Linked DNA regions of Homo sapiens: region 1 is linked to region 2. Evidence: promoter capture Hi-C in human tissues and cell types (Jung and others, 2019). All regions are on one chromosome and are shown on one strand. The core of a region is centred on a gene start or on the middle of the fragment in contact, and the rest is flanking DNA. Distances in the headings are between cores, read along the strand shown. Region 1 overlaps LOC105371742 (a long non-coding RNA gene). Region 2 holds the start of TMEM132E (transmembrane protein 132E).

Region 1 (6,682 bases), core at 3,533-6,032, 230 kb after region 2:
TAAGGTTCTGATCCTCTTAGCATTTGCTGTGCTTCCTATTTCCACTTTCTGAGCCTCAGTTTGCTGATCTGAAAAAAACAAATAAACAAACCAAAAACAGTCTTTCCAGTTCTAGGAGCTGATTAAAATGGAGCAGCCTCTTCACTGCCCCCTCCCAACAAACACCTATTGCCCCCTGCCTTTGCTCCTACTGTTCCTCCTACTGGAAATGCCCTCCCACCTCCCCTCCACCAATTCAAATCAAAGCCCAGTTTTCTCCAAGAACCTTTCCCTAATTATCCCCACAACTATGTGTTTCTTACTTTGAAGCTCCTCAGCAAGTCTGTGCTATTTCTCACACACGTTGCCTTACGATCCTTCATGCATGAATGGATTATCCTTCTAATTGGACAGCAGTATGGTTTGGATCTGTGTCCCCACACAAATCTCATGTTCAGTTCCCAATGTTGGAGGGGGGGCTGGTGGGAAGAGATTGGATCATGGGGGCAGTTTCTTATGACTTGTTTAGCACCATCCTTCTTGGTCCTGTTGTCGCAGTAGTGCGTTCTCATGAGATCTGGTTGTTTAGAAGTGTATAGTAATTTTGGCCAGGCACAGTGGCTCATGCCTATAATCCCAGCACTTTGGGAGGCCAAGGAGGGCGGATTATCTGAGGTCAGGAGTTCAAGATCAGCCTGGCCTACATGGTAAAACCCTGTCTCTGCTAAAAATACAAAAATTAGCCGAGCGTGGTGGCGCGCACCTGTAATCCCAGCTACTAGGGAGGCTGAGGCAGGAGAATAGCTTGAACCCAGGAGGTGGAGGTTGCAGTGAGCCGAGATCATGTCATTACACTCCAGCTTGAGCAACGAGAGCAAAACTTCATTTCAAAAAATTTAAAAAAAAATGTATAGCTTTTTTTTTTTTTTTTTTTGAGACAGAGTCTCACTCTGTTGTCCAGACTGGAATGCCGTGGCACAATCTCTGCTCACTGCAAGCTCTGCCTCCCAGGTTCATGCCATTCTCCTGCCTCAGCCTCCCAAGTAGCTGGGACTACAGGCATGCGCCACCACGCCCGGCTAATTTTTTTTTTGTATTTTTAATAGAGATGGGGTTTCACCATGTTAGCCAGGATGGTCTCGATCTCCTGACCTTGTGATCTGCCCGCCTCGGCCTCCCAAAGTGCTGGGATTACAGGCGTGAGCCACCGCGCCCAGCCATGTATAGCACTTTTTAACAACCTGCTCCAGCCATGTTGGATGCCTTGCTTCCTCTTTGCCTTCTGCCATGATTGGAAGCTTCCTAAGGCCTTTCCAGAAGCAGAAGCCACAACGCTTCCTGTAGGGCCTGCAGAACCATGAGCCAATTAAACCTCTTTTCTTTATAAATTACCCAGTCTCAGGTATTTATTTATAACAGTGTGAGAACACACTAAAACAGACAGCGAGCTTCTCCAGGGCTATAACCCCATACCAGTGCCTTTTCCATTGTAGAACCTGTGCCCTGGGGTGTACCTGTACTTAGTAAGTGTCTGGATCATGCCACCCTCCCCCTCAACCCCCTCTGTTGGGTGAGGTTCAGGCTCCACGCTGTCTGCAGGATAGTGTCATTCATTTTCTCAGCAAATATTCACTGAACACTTACTATGTGCTAGATGGTGGTAGGTACGGGAGATGCAACAATGAATCAGTCACAGCCCCTGACTTCAAAGACCTCTCAGGCTGACATTCAAGGTCATTTACATTTGGTCCAGTCTCACCTCTCAGTATTCTCCTTCTCAAACCTCCTCTAGCTCAGGATGGTTCTTCTATCCCTCCTTGATTTTACTCATGCTAAATCCTTTGCTGGGAACCCCTCTCCACTCTTCACCATCCTCATAAATCCTAAAGTATGAAGAAGAGAAAGAAAAGAAAAGAGAGAGAGAAGAGGAAGTGGAAGAGGAGAAAGGATTATCAGAAAATATAAATCCAGCCCAACCTTCAAGGGTATAGAGAAACCCTGAAGTTTCCTATACCAAACTCTATCCTGTTGGTTAGTATCTAGATGCCTACTGTCTAGTGAGAAGGTCAGTGTTGGGGTCGCCTAAAGGTGAAGTCCAGGCAACTTCCCATTCATCCTGGAGATGACCCCCTGCCCTTACCATGCACACTCATCCTTCCTCCTGGTTCACCCTTCAGCCACTCAGGCTGCTAACTTACTCCTTGTGCCTTTCTGGAGGCAGTAAGCCAGAATGCCCAGGTGAATGGCTGGCTGAGCCAGTAAGTAACAGACAAACCTACCATACCTGGTATTTTTCCCTAATTGGATTAAGAACAAAATATAACTTCCCTTTGTTTCCTCCTAATGCACGCTACAGATCAGTGCTCCTAATAATTAGACCCCAGCACTTCCTATGCAGGAACACAGGGAGGCCAGTGGGCTGCATCTGGAGACACATCCCCTCTCTTTGGCCCAGCACTCAGCCCCTGTTCCTAACCACTGCCCAGCCCTGTATCTACGGCATGTTCTCATGAGAAGGTAAGAATGAAGGCTCAAACTGCAGGGGACAGAAGAGAGGCATCAGGCCTTTCTTTGTGGAGCATTCACTTCCCTTGACCTGCACTCACGTCCCTGAGCTCTTGGAAGGGAAGACATCGTGCTGGGGCATATAGACTCGAGTAGCTCTTGGCCATAGGGGTAGAGGATACCACCCACACTCCCTACAGATTAATCCTCCTCTCTCCCCTGATTCCCAGCCAAACTTCATCCATAGCCACCAATACACTCTGATGAGGGAGGTTGGATCTAAATCCTTCTCCGTTTGATTAGGAGTTCCTGATGGAAAAGAACGATGGCTCTGCAAATAACTGCAAGCCCCCGTAGGACCCAGGCCAAGACTCCTCATGTCTTCAGATTGGGGCTTCTGTGAGTGGAGGCCTTTATCCCTTTTTCGGGCTGGAGCACCCACACAACAGGGCACTTCCTCCCCCATCAGATTGGGAGTTCTGTCGGGAAAAGGTCTATTCTCCCTCACCGGCTGGAGGCTTCCCCAGAACAAGGCCTACTAGATTTGGTTAAACAGGTATTTGCTTAACTCCTACTGTGTGCTGATGTGCTGGATACTTCCCTGAACAAAGACTGAGACCTGGTCCTGGCCACAAGGAGGTGACAATGCAGAGGAGGAGACATGGCACCCTGCATAAGACCAGCAGCTGAGGTCGGGGCTCAGCTCTTCCCATCCTGACAGCCATCCGAAGGAAATAACTAAGAGATGGATGCATCCAGAACAGGGAAGCAGGGTCTGGCCCCTTTCTGCACTGGCTGGGCAAATCCTGTGACCTTAGTTTTTTAAACCATAAAATAGAAATGGCAGAGCCTGCTTCATAAGAGTCTTGTGAGGCTCCTGCAAAACAACAGGTAAAGCCAGGGGGTTGGGTGCTGACACAAGCTTGAGGGGCTGGGGAGGAGCCCTGGCTTGCAGCATGTGTCCATTTCCTTGATTTCAACACTCCCCTCAAGACTTGTTTCAAGATACAAATATGATGTCCCTGAAATGGGAGCAGGGAAGAGATGTGCCAAATTGGCTTTCAGGAGCTGGTGTGAGCCGGCCCCAGCACATCGCTCCTTAGAACATACTATATGCTCAGGAAATGGTGAGCTCCTATTAGTACCTGATCAGGCCATACCTAGCCCCCTATTTTTTCAAATGTCTGAGCATCTCCCTTAAATGGGATATGAACAAGCTGCAGCATTTTGGAGAAGGATGACCTAAGGATGGAACAGTAGACTGGCTATTCCCCAAACCGTGTCCCATTTCCTCTTGGGCACACCACCAGACTCTATTTGCAGCCTCTCTTGCAGGTAGGGCAGCCATGTGACTGAGCGCTGGCCAAAGGAATGTGGGCAAGTATGACGTGCGTCCCTTCCAGACACAACCCATAAAAACCTCCCAGGCAGCCTTCAGGTTCTCTCTTCCCCATGCACTGTCTAAATGGAGAGGAAAGAGCTCCAAGATGGAAGGAAACAGGGATGTGGGATTACTGCACAGAAGGTTGCCCACTGAATACCTGCACTGGACAAATACGTGAGTGACACATCAACTACTGGTAATTAAACCACTGAGATTTGCAGACAGGGTCTTTCTTACAGCAGTTGGCTTATCCCAACTAATACAGGTTAGCTCACAACCTCACCACATGACAAACAGCTGAGGAACTGTTGCCCTGTAGAGGAGGAGGTTCAGCAGAGAACATTGTACACTGTCCTTAAATACTTTATCCATCATCTTAGAGCAGAGTTGACCCAAGTGACATGAGACAGCAGCTCTAGGACCAGTGGCAGGAAATTCCCAGGGATGCAGATTACAGCTCCACACACAGGAAGGTAATGTTAACAGAGGCACAACAGGTGACCTTAAGAGACAGCAAGCTTCTACTCCTGGCTGTGCAAACAGGTGAGAATGTTGCAGAAGCCACATGAGCATCAGCTAGCAGCTTGACATCAGTGACATAACGCAAAAACATTCTCAAGACCTTAGATTCTGTGATCTTATGATCTGTCATCCCCAACTAGGATGCTGCCTCCTCCATCAGTCTAAGATCTCCCTAGGCCTGGGCTCGACACTCTCAGGAGACCAAAAACCCTCAGGACAAGAATGCTAACTCTTTTTCTTTTCTTTTCTTTTCCTTTCCTTCTTTTTTTTTTTTTTTTTTTTCTTTTCTTGAGACAGGATCTGGCTCTGTCTCCCAGGCTGGAGTGTGGTGGCACCATCTTGGCTCATTGCAACTTCTGCTTCCCGGGCTCAAGCCATCCTGCCACCTCAGCCTCCCAAGAAGCTGGGACTACAGGCACACATTATGATGTCCAGCTTATTTTTTTGTATCTTTTGTAGAGACAGGACTAACTTTTTTTCAGAATCTGCCCTAGCTGCCCCTGGCCTCAGCACCCGTTAAGAGCCCCATGTTCAAATGTGGGGGCCAGGCTTAGTGTTTAGGGAAGACATGGCTACTGGGGAAAGCTGGATTTGAGTCCCCAGATCCTACATTCCTGAGCAAGAATACACGGAGAAGTCTAAGTAGCAGAGAGGCAGAGGGAGGGGATTGATCTGAAAAATAATTTGTGGTGGAGGAGAGGAGGGCTGGCTGTTCCCATGTCCGGCAAAAGCAGTGATCTTCAGTTCTCTCAGCATTATCCAAGGATGAAGGCTCAGCAAGAGAGGCCTTGGCTCATCTCTCTGGAGGCCTTCTGACATGACAGTCTGGTCTGTGTTCTATCAACATAGGCACCTGTGCACATGCACGAACACACACGAACGCACACACACAAACCTTTTCACCTCTGTCCTGGCCTCCAGAGAGAGGCCTGCTATCTCCTCAAATATTTCCCAAAGCTAAGCTCCCAAAAGCACCCCGAGGTTTCCAGAAAATCTGGGGGCTGGGCCTGGGGAAGTGGCAGGGAAAATCCACAGAGAAGAAGGCTTCAGGGCATTTTCCTGTAAGAGTCATTAAGACATATTAAATTCTGACGCTTCCTCCCCCTGCCTATGCCAGCTTCACCTCCACGCAGGCCTCCCCATCGCCACGTACAGAACATTAGGGCTAAATTGAATTAGAATAATTAACTTTTGGTCACACTTTTAATTTGGTGCAGGAAATAAGAGAGCTAATGGAGATTAAGCAAGGCTCTGACTCCAGAGACCAGCCTGGAAGCTGCACGGGGAGGCCCTGGCTCTGGAGTGGGGGAAAATAAACAGCCAGAGAAAAGAGGCTGAGGCAGATGTGTGCTGTGTGAACTGGCAGGTATGTGCATGTTTGTTGATGCCTGTATTTGTGCTTGTGTGTGTGTGCCCTTATATATGAAAACATGCTCTGTAGCATGTAGGTAAACATGTGCATGTACACACGTGTCTGAAGGTTTGTACACATGAATGTCTCTTTGTACATGTGTGAGTAGGAGTGTGCGTGGGTGTACACACATTGCTTTAAACCCTGGGCAAGTAAAACTCCTTGATTTTTATAGAATCCTAGCAGCTCTGACTTAGAAGCCACCTTCATAAATATCTTCAAACCCAGTGTCTCCCCACCTGCAGCTAGAATCTCTTCTACAACATTTTCCCCAGGAGAGCACACAACATCTGCCCACACTCCTACACTGATGGGGCATTCACTACCATGGAAGACACCCTGTGGAGCTCTGATTGTTAGAAGCACTTCCTTCCTGCAACATTCACCCAGAGCCCTAGATCCAACTCCAGGATCACACAGAAGAAGCCCAATCTCTCCCCATGGCATCCCCTGAAGATGATGACTGTTCCCTTCTTCATAGTCTCTTCTCTGGGTTAGAACTCCCCCAATTGTCTTCTAGGACTTCACATGACATGTGACATTGGCACACAGCACCTAACACCCAATCACATGCCAAGCATGAAGAGTCCAGCTGGGATGGCACTCATGCCAGTGGGTGCTTAAGGATCATCTGCTCAGGCCATAGTCAACTCAAACTTCACATGCATCAGAACATCCGGTGTGATTTTTGAAAATGTAGATTCCAGCCAGGCGCGGTAGCTCACGCCTGTAATCCCAGCACTTTGGGAGGCCGAGGCGGGCGGATCACAAGGTCAAGAGATAGAGATTATCCTGGCTAACATGGTGAAACCTCATCTCTACTAAAAATACAAAAAAATTAGCCAGGTGTGGTGACAGGCACCTGTAGTCCCAGCTACTCA
Region 2 (7,406 bases), core at 1,889-4,388:
GAGAGGGCTAGCTTAGGAAATCTCGGAACCCCCTTGAGCTGAGACAGAGTCGGATTCCAGGATGATCCCAGGAACATGTCTTCATGATGCTCCACATTGGCTCATCTGATTGTCTCCTGATGGTAGACATTCTGAAAAACAGAGGCATGCTGAAGGACAGATGTCACCTGGCCTATCATGAGGGCAGGTCAGGCATGGGAGGAAGTGGGTGCCAGTTTATGTATGGGTCCTTGATAAGCATCCATGTAGGGCACCGGGGCCTGGGACAGAACCCCACTTGCTGCCTGGCTTCTTGGCAGGAGGACAGGGTTCTTCCAGGCATCACCTGGGAACTGGTGACTGAGATAACCTCCAACCATTGCCAATCCTCTGTCCAGAAGACACAAACAGAATGGAAACAGCAGAGACACTACCACCTTAAGTTGATAAGGTGCTCATCTGGGATAGAAGAGTACACACATGCCAGGTCCTCTCTCCAGCCCGGGCTCCAGTTGGGGTGGCTCCTCTGACTTCCCCTTATCTAAGCTCCAGTGGCATTGCTGTTTGGGAATCCGTAACTAGGACTAACAGGTGAGACCGAGGGCAGTCTGCTGGGGTAGTAGGAAAGGCAGAGGGAATGTATAGAACCCCTTTCCAGGTAAATGACATGCAGGATTGGAATAGCTGAAACAACTGGCTGTCTACCTTGTGCCAACTGCCTTCTCTCTGAGCAGTAGGATTTACACTGCTGAGAATGACAGGTCCATGGAGCACTGCAGGTTGTAGTCATATTTTATTCTCCAGGTGGGCTATCGGCTGCCCTTCACTTCCCTGAGGCAAGGAGGAGGAAAATCTGGCATTTGGAGAGTCAGAGGATCATCAGGCCCATGGACTTGGCACAAGGCTTCAATCCAGGAAGGGTAGATCCATATCGGAGGTACAGGAAGAACTTGAGGCTGAAACTGTGTTCTCTAAAGATAGCAGGCTGCTCCCTCGCCCTTTCCAACCACAGGCCTCAGTCTTCTCCATAAGATGAGCGAAGTGCATGATGCCAAATCACACCACAATTGCAAGCAATTAGAAGCTTAGTGTCTGCCTTCCCCTCTAGAAAGTTAGTTCCATGAGGACAAGAGCTGGTTTTGTCCTGCTCACTGTTGTACCTACAATGCCTGTGATGTTGGAGATATGCACCATACTACTGTGAAAGGGAGGGACAGAGACAGGGAGGGAGGAGGAGAAACTGAATCACAAAGGAAGGTCACATAAGAGCTATGGGGTGGGGTGAGATGGGGTTGCAGAGAGAAGAATTCTATGTCTGAGTCCCTGCCCACCCTGACCAGAACACTGTGCTATTTCCACAGATGGCTGGGAGAGATGCAACATTGCTGCCCCTCAGACCCTAGCGTCAACTGGGAACATTTGAGGAGAAAGGAAATTTGATCCACAACACAGGGTAAGGTGTGTCTTGGGCTCAGAAAAGCACCTTGTCTCTTCCTTCTGGCCATGCTCAGGCTCCATGACCCTTCTGATGGGGTGCTGGGCAGGGATGGAGGGCCCTCCCTGCTTCCTTCCTCCTCTTCCTGAAGCCCTCCTCTGCCTCAGGAGGTGGATCTTTCCCCCTTTCTCCCCCACACAGAGCCTGATTGCTAGCTTGCTTCTCAGGGGGTTGGTGAATAAGCCCTTGGGTGACATTAATTGCCATCAGGCATTAGGGGCCTAATGAGAATAATCTTCTTTGACGACTCCAGCACCTTCTATCCCCAGGGCCTCCAAGAGCTGGCCAGCTCTCCTCAGGCTGCACCTCCCCCCAGCTCCAGACAGATGTAGGGGTGGGGGAAGGGCCAGAGCAGCCCTCTACAGGCCCCAGTACCAAGCGAGGCAGCAACAGCCAGCAGCCAGGGAGGAGGAAGCCTTCCATGAAAAATGCAAGCACATTTTCCAAAAACAAAATGTCACCGTCCTAGATGAAAGGAAACTCTCAGGGTCAAGAGGGCTAGCATGGAGTCAGGCAGATGGAGGGCACGGTTTGAGTGCCCCAGCTGGCTTTGCTCTGACCTGGCCCCACACTCTCACTCCAGTTGAGTGCAGAGGTATGGAAGGGTGACCCTCAAGATCCATATCCTCCCCAGTAGGGATATGTCCATGGGATTGAAGACCCTGTCCCTCCAGAGCAGGGTAGGATTGAAATTCACCCTCTGGGGATTGGAGTTGATACCCAACGAAGCTATAAAATCATTGCCATGGATCCGATGCCTGGTTGACAGATGAGGTGTGAAGGTTGACTTGCCGGGTCTGATCTAGGTTGCACTCTAATGGAAAGGGCCTGATGGTGGGAACAGATATCACTCCAGCCACCCCTCCCGCTAGTCAGCAGGTGCCTGGGTGAGTATGCAAGAGGGGCAGTTCCCCACCCCCACCTCATGCCTCTTTAAAGGCTTGCTAAACAACCTGTAGGAAAGCACTGTCCCCTCCTCTTCTCCGTCTTCCTTCCCCAGCAACAGAATAAATAGGTTTCCCACAGCTGCGCCCCGGACCCATCCCGCACGAAGCTGAGCCCCAGAGCCCCCGCGGCCCGAGAGGAGCTGGGCACAGCAGCGAGGCTGATTCCCAGCCAGTGCCCAGCGAACTCTGGGGGTGGGGGTAGGGTGCCCCCTACCCGCGCCTCTGGAAGAGCGGCTGCAAAACACCTCCGGCGCCCGGTGGGGAGCGTGCATCCTTTGAAAAGGGACATCAGTGACTGCGGTGGCGTCTACCCTGGAGAAACGCAGCTGAGGGAGGTGGAGGCTCCTCCCGCCGCAGCTGGCCGGCCCCATTCGGGTCCCAGCGCTAGCCGGCGTTGGGAAGGAAAAATCAAACATAAAATAGGGGCGAGCGGAATCGCGAGGTCGGCCCTTGGCCCGAGTCTCATTAAGGAGCCGCGCGCGCCGCCAGGCTAGGAATGCGGAATGGACACGTGGACAGAGGAGGGGGAGCTAGGAGTCGGGGAGTCTCCGTGGCGCGCGAGCTGTGGGCCGCGCGCTCGGGGGCCACGTGACCACGGGGAATCTGGGAGGGGTGGGAGTGAGCGCGCCAAGCTCGGCGCCCGCTTCTGCCCGGGTGGGCGCTGAATCCCGGACGGAGGAGGAGGGCGGGCGAGCGCGAGTGTGTGTGTCTCTCTCGAGTCATTTACGGCGGAGCAGCCGGCGCGAGCGCCGAGGAGGCGGCGACGGCGGCGGCGGCTGCTTCGTGCAACTGTGGCTTCCCCCACCTCCTCTTCCTTTTTGCTCCTCGATTCTTCTTCTTCCCCCACACACGTCCATGGGGAGCCGGCTCCCCTGCCAGCACCTCCTCTCCTCTCGGCCCCGTAGGCACCAGCTGCCGCTTCCCTGGCCGCAAGCTGCGCAGGTGCCGGCTGCCCTGGCCCCTGGCGCCGCGCCCGCGTCTCACCGCCCGCAGCCCGGACTGGCGCGGCGATCCGCTCGCCCAAACTGACTCGGAGGGAGCGGGAGCCGATGCCCGGCAGCATCGAGACAGCGGGCGAACGGGCGTCCGGGGACAGGGTGGGGGCGGCGGGGAGGAGGCGTCGGAGACTCTGAACCCCAGAAAAGTTCAAGGTTTGTGCAGGTTCCCCCAGGGAAGGCGAGGAGCGAGGCGGGGCAGCGCGCCTCTCTGCCGAGACAGCGAGACCTTAGCGGGGTGGCCCGGAGCTGCCGTGAGCTGCAGGAGCCCCTCTGCATCTTACAGCGTTTATGGTCATCAAGCTGGAGTCGACGTCCTGGGCAGGAAGGGCTCGGGGCAGGGCGCATTAGCCGGCTTTCTCGCTCCCTCGCTTCTCCAAGCCCCATCTACATGGGGCAGCCCGTTCTGGCCGCGCCACCCTTGCCCCAGCCGCCGAGCGGCTGCCTGGGCAGGAGGCGCTGAGCCGGCCTGTGTGGAGCCTGGGCCCTGATCCAGACTGGAGAAAGCGCGCTGGAGCGGAGGAGCGAGCCTTGCGAGGGGACAAACATCTGGCCGCCCGCCTCGGGCATCCGGTCTGGGCGTCGCCTAGGGTGGTGGCGACCGGCGTCGCCAGTTTCAGCACCGCACGGAAACTTTTCCTTCTCCAGATGGATTAAAGTTGTCTGGATTTTCTCTTTCTTTGAGAAAGACAGCATTCATTTGCACCTGACCTGGGATTTTTATGCTGGGCTGCTGCAGGGGCTTGGAGGAAGAAAGCGGCGCTATCCATGTGCGGTTACTACCGAAACCGAGGAAACTGGGGATTGCGTTGGAAGTCGGCACCCTCGAGTGAGTTCGGATTCGAGCTGGGCCGTGAGGCCGGGAGATTCAGCACTGGGCTCTAGGTAGCCCCCGGGACGCCCGCGGCCACCGGGCTCCGGACTGCACGTGCAGCTCCCCCCGCGCCTCGCAGATCCTGCAGGGGGCACCAGCTGGGGGAGGTGGAGGCTCCTCCCGCCCGGAGCTGCGCCCCCACCGGCTCCGAGGGTGTAGCCGCCAGCGCCTGGGACGCCCCCTCCCCGCAAAGTGTCCCCGAATTGCACTCTCTGGTCCCGGAGCTGCATCTGAGACAGCCGGGCGCCACGGCAGCCCTGAGTTGGATGTGACCAAGCCCAGCCTGGGGCCAAGTCGTCGTCGACTGTTGCTCTCTCGGACCCCTCCCGCCCCCGCCTCGGCCATGGCCCCGGGGATGTCGGGCCGCGGCGGCGCCGCCCTGCTCTGCCTCTCAGCGCTACTCGCCCACGGTAAGTGTCGCGGCGCGGACTGGGGGTGAGGATGCGGCAGGCGCCACTGGAGGGGGTACGGGGAAGACTGGGGAGAGGAGCACCCACACCCCCTGGACTCGCAGCCGCCACTCCGGGTTTGGCGTCTCTGGCTGCAGCTCGAGTTACCGCCAGCCCCCGAGCCCTCCGGCGAGCTCAGCTGAGGGGACCGAGCCCGGCGCCAGAAAAGGGTGGGGGGAGGGTGTCGCTCCAGTCCTCTCCTGGTTATAAAGAAGGGTTCGAACCCGAAGGTCTGGGGTCGTGTCCGCCCACGGAAATCTAGAGGGATCCGAGGGATCCTCCGGATCGCGTCCAGGCCGCCCCCCGCCCCCGTCTCTCCCTGCAGCCGGCCGGGCTGGGGGCTGTTGGGATCCGCCGGGATCGCGTCTTTCCTCGCCCCGGGCGCGCAGGCCGGTGCGGGGCCGCGCCGCCCGTCGCCTCGCTTCCTGCGGCGGTCCTCGGGAAGGGAAGTGGACTGACTCCGGGCCGGGGAGCCGCCGCGGCTCGCACGCCCGCGGTCCTGTGAGCTGCATCTAAATGGCCGGCTTAGGCGAGCCCGGAGGGCGGGGGTCTGGGCACCCGCACAGGCCGGGGCGGTGGGCCGCGGGCCGCGCGCGGAGGGAGCGGGCTCCGCGCTCTCGCATTCTGCAATCTGTTGCGTCTGCTCCCCAGGCTCGCCCCGGGCTCCGCGGTAAAGGGGGTGGGAGAAGGAGGGATTGAGGTTGGCGCGCTTTGGCGGTGGGACAGCGGGCATACGGGTGGGGGGCAGCGGGTTTTTGAACAGCCCCCAAGAATGGGAAATCAGACCAGAGGGAAGGAGGCTGCAGCGGGCCTTCCGCAAGCTGGAGACGCTCCAGGAGGCGAGGGGAGCAGACCGAGGTGGGAGGGAGAGAGCTCCGAAAGGAGAGTGGAGAAGCGGGGCCCTCTGCTCCCTCCTAACGTGAAACCAGCCGACCTGGGATACATTTTCTTAACCAGCAAGGCGTGGCGGGGTTGGGGGGCGGGGGTGTTTCGATGCTCCACGCTGAGGGGTGAGCCTCAGGCAGAATGGAGGGCGCTTAGATGGAGGGGGCAGTGGGCTCTCCGCATTGGTGGAGCGCCCTCGGTGTGCCGGGCTCAGCTCTTGCCCAGATCTGCCCAGTCCCTAAGAGCCTGCTCAAGCTCGCCAGGAGTGTGCCCAAGGTCTCTAACCAGCGGCCTCTTTCACCCTGACCAAAGCGCATTCTCAAGGTTGAGAGAATAAGAAAAAGAGGGGCTCTCGGAATCGTAGGGTCCTGGGGCTAGGAGGGGGGCGGGGAGCAGGCAGACCTCCCTCTATGGGTGGCTTGGTTATTCCCGGCTGAGGTAACACCAGGGGGGGTTGTTTTGCGTTCAGTTCACCAGAGACAGCTAACCTCAGTTCTCTATGGGAGGAATAGGCAGAGCAGCGAGCCAGCAGGGGGGCGAGGGTGAGGTGGGGCGAAGTGGGAGCATAGCGGGGAACCAGAAATCTCTAGGCTCTGTGTGCAACACTGAGAATGAAGGTGGGGGAGAGGGAGGTGGGCTGCCTGTCTGCGCACTGGAGCTGCATGGGCTGCACTTGTGACCTAGCACTGGCCGGCAGGGAGTTTCCCTGCCCAGTAGGAGGAAGCCCAGAAACCCAGGCCTGAGTCTAGGTGGGTTCTTCCCCTCTTCTTACATCTTGCTGTCGGAGTTCCCTTCCCAAAGCCCAACCATGGCGTCACCTCAAACGCTGATGATGGGCAGCTCAAACTCTGTCATTAGGGTCCCTCTGCCCACCTTCCCGATCCCTGAGCCTGGAATTAAAGATCCCTTTCCCTTCCTCACCTGCCAGAATCCTGCCTGTTCCTAAGACGCAGTTCCAGCTGGGCCTTAGCGTCCTGGCTGCCTTCCCTTGGTCTTGGCCTTGGCCTCCTTTTTTCCTTAGGCACCAGTGCCCTCTCTGTGCCCCAGTAGTCCTGGATTGGTGGAGGCAGAGCCATGGGCTTATTCCCTGTCTCTCCACACAGCCAGTGCCTAACACAGTGACAGCACACCTAGGGCAGAGGGCTTGGCTGCCTGAGCAGAAAGAAGGTATTTGAGGAGGTAGGGTCTGAATCGCCCTACTGAGCGGACATTTCCCCTCCTGACTATCTGGCTTCCTTTCCAACCTCCTTCCCTGAGTCCTGAACTCTCTTCTCCATCGCATGTCTCAGTCTCCCCTGCCTCAGAGAAGGGTGCCAGCAGATACTTAAAACTTGGGGGATCCCCCAGATGGGTAAGGCCAGTATGATAGAAATCCCCCCACAATAAAACCCCATCTTGCCTGGGCTGCCCTCCTCCTCCAGGGCTGCCTGACACCCACGTAGCCACCCCTTCCCTCTGTTAAGAATAGGGTCCGGGGACTTAGTCTCCCTTTAAACTGACTCTTGGTTGGGGTTCCGGGGCTTTTCTAAAATGCTGGGAGATAGAGGGACAGTTGCAGTTTTCTGTGCCTGGCAGGCAATTGAGGTCACAGGGTTCTGACCACACAGCCAGACTGGGAGCCAAGTAGCCTGGGTTTCAGTCTGACTCTGGCGCCACCGGGCAGGGTGACCTTGGGCTGCCTCCCTCACATTCCCCATCTTCCACAGGCAGCGTGGTCTCTGGCCTTTCTTTCCCCTTTCCAGTTTCTGCCAGGACTCCTGGACAGAGACCATGTGTGAATGG

Evidence for each region. Contacts are between HindIII fragments. The study calls those that stand out against the background at their distance.
Region 1: a contact is called between a fragment that was not itself captured here and the fragment with the promoter of TMEM132E in region 2, in 1 of the 25 tissues and cell types used here (H1 embryonic stem cells).

Annotation. Positions count from the first base shown.
Region 1 is chr17:34,807,913-34,814,594 of GRCh38, forward strand. The region is part of intron 3 of LOC105371742 (a long non-coding RNA gene); the gene reads right to left. Among named protein-coding and RNA genes, the nearest start is that of CCT6B, 150 kb to the right of the region's middle. The HindIII fragment of the contact is 4,882 bases long and covers 2,342-6,682 here.
Region 2 is chr17:34,576,444-34,583,849 of GRCh38, forward strand. TMEM132E (transmembrane protein 132E) reads left to right here and starts at 3,139. Exons shown (of 9, transcript NM_001304438.2): 1 at 3,139-4,700. The coding sequence starts at 4,634. TMEM132E-DT (TMEM132E divergent transcript) reads right to left here and starts at 2,926. Exons shown (of 2, transcript NR_160787.1): 1 at 2,428-2,926; 2 at 1-1,177. RefSeq lists enhancers at 2,091-2,627, 2,628-3,163. The HindIII fragment of the contact is 28,166 bases long and covers 1-7,406 here.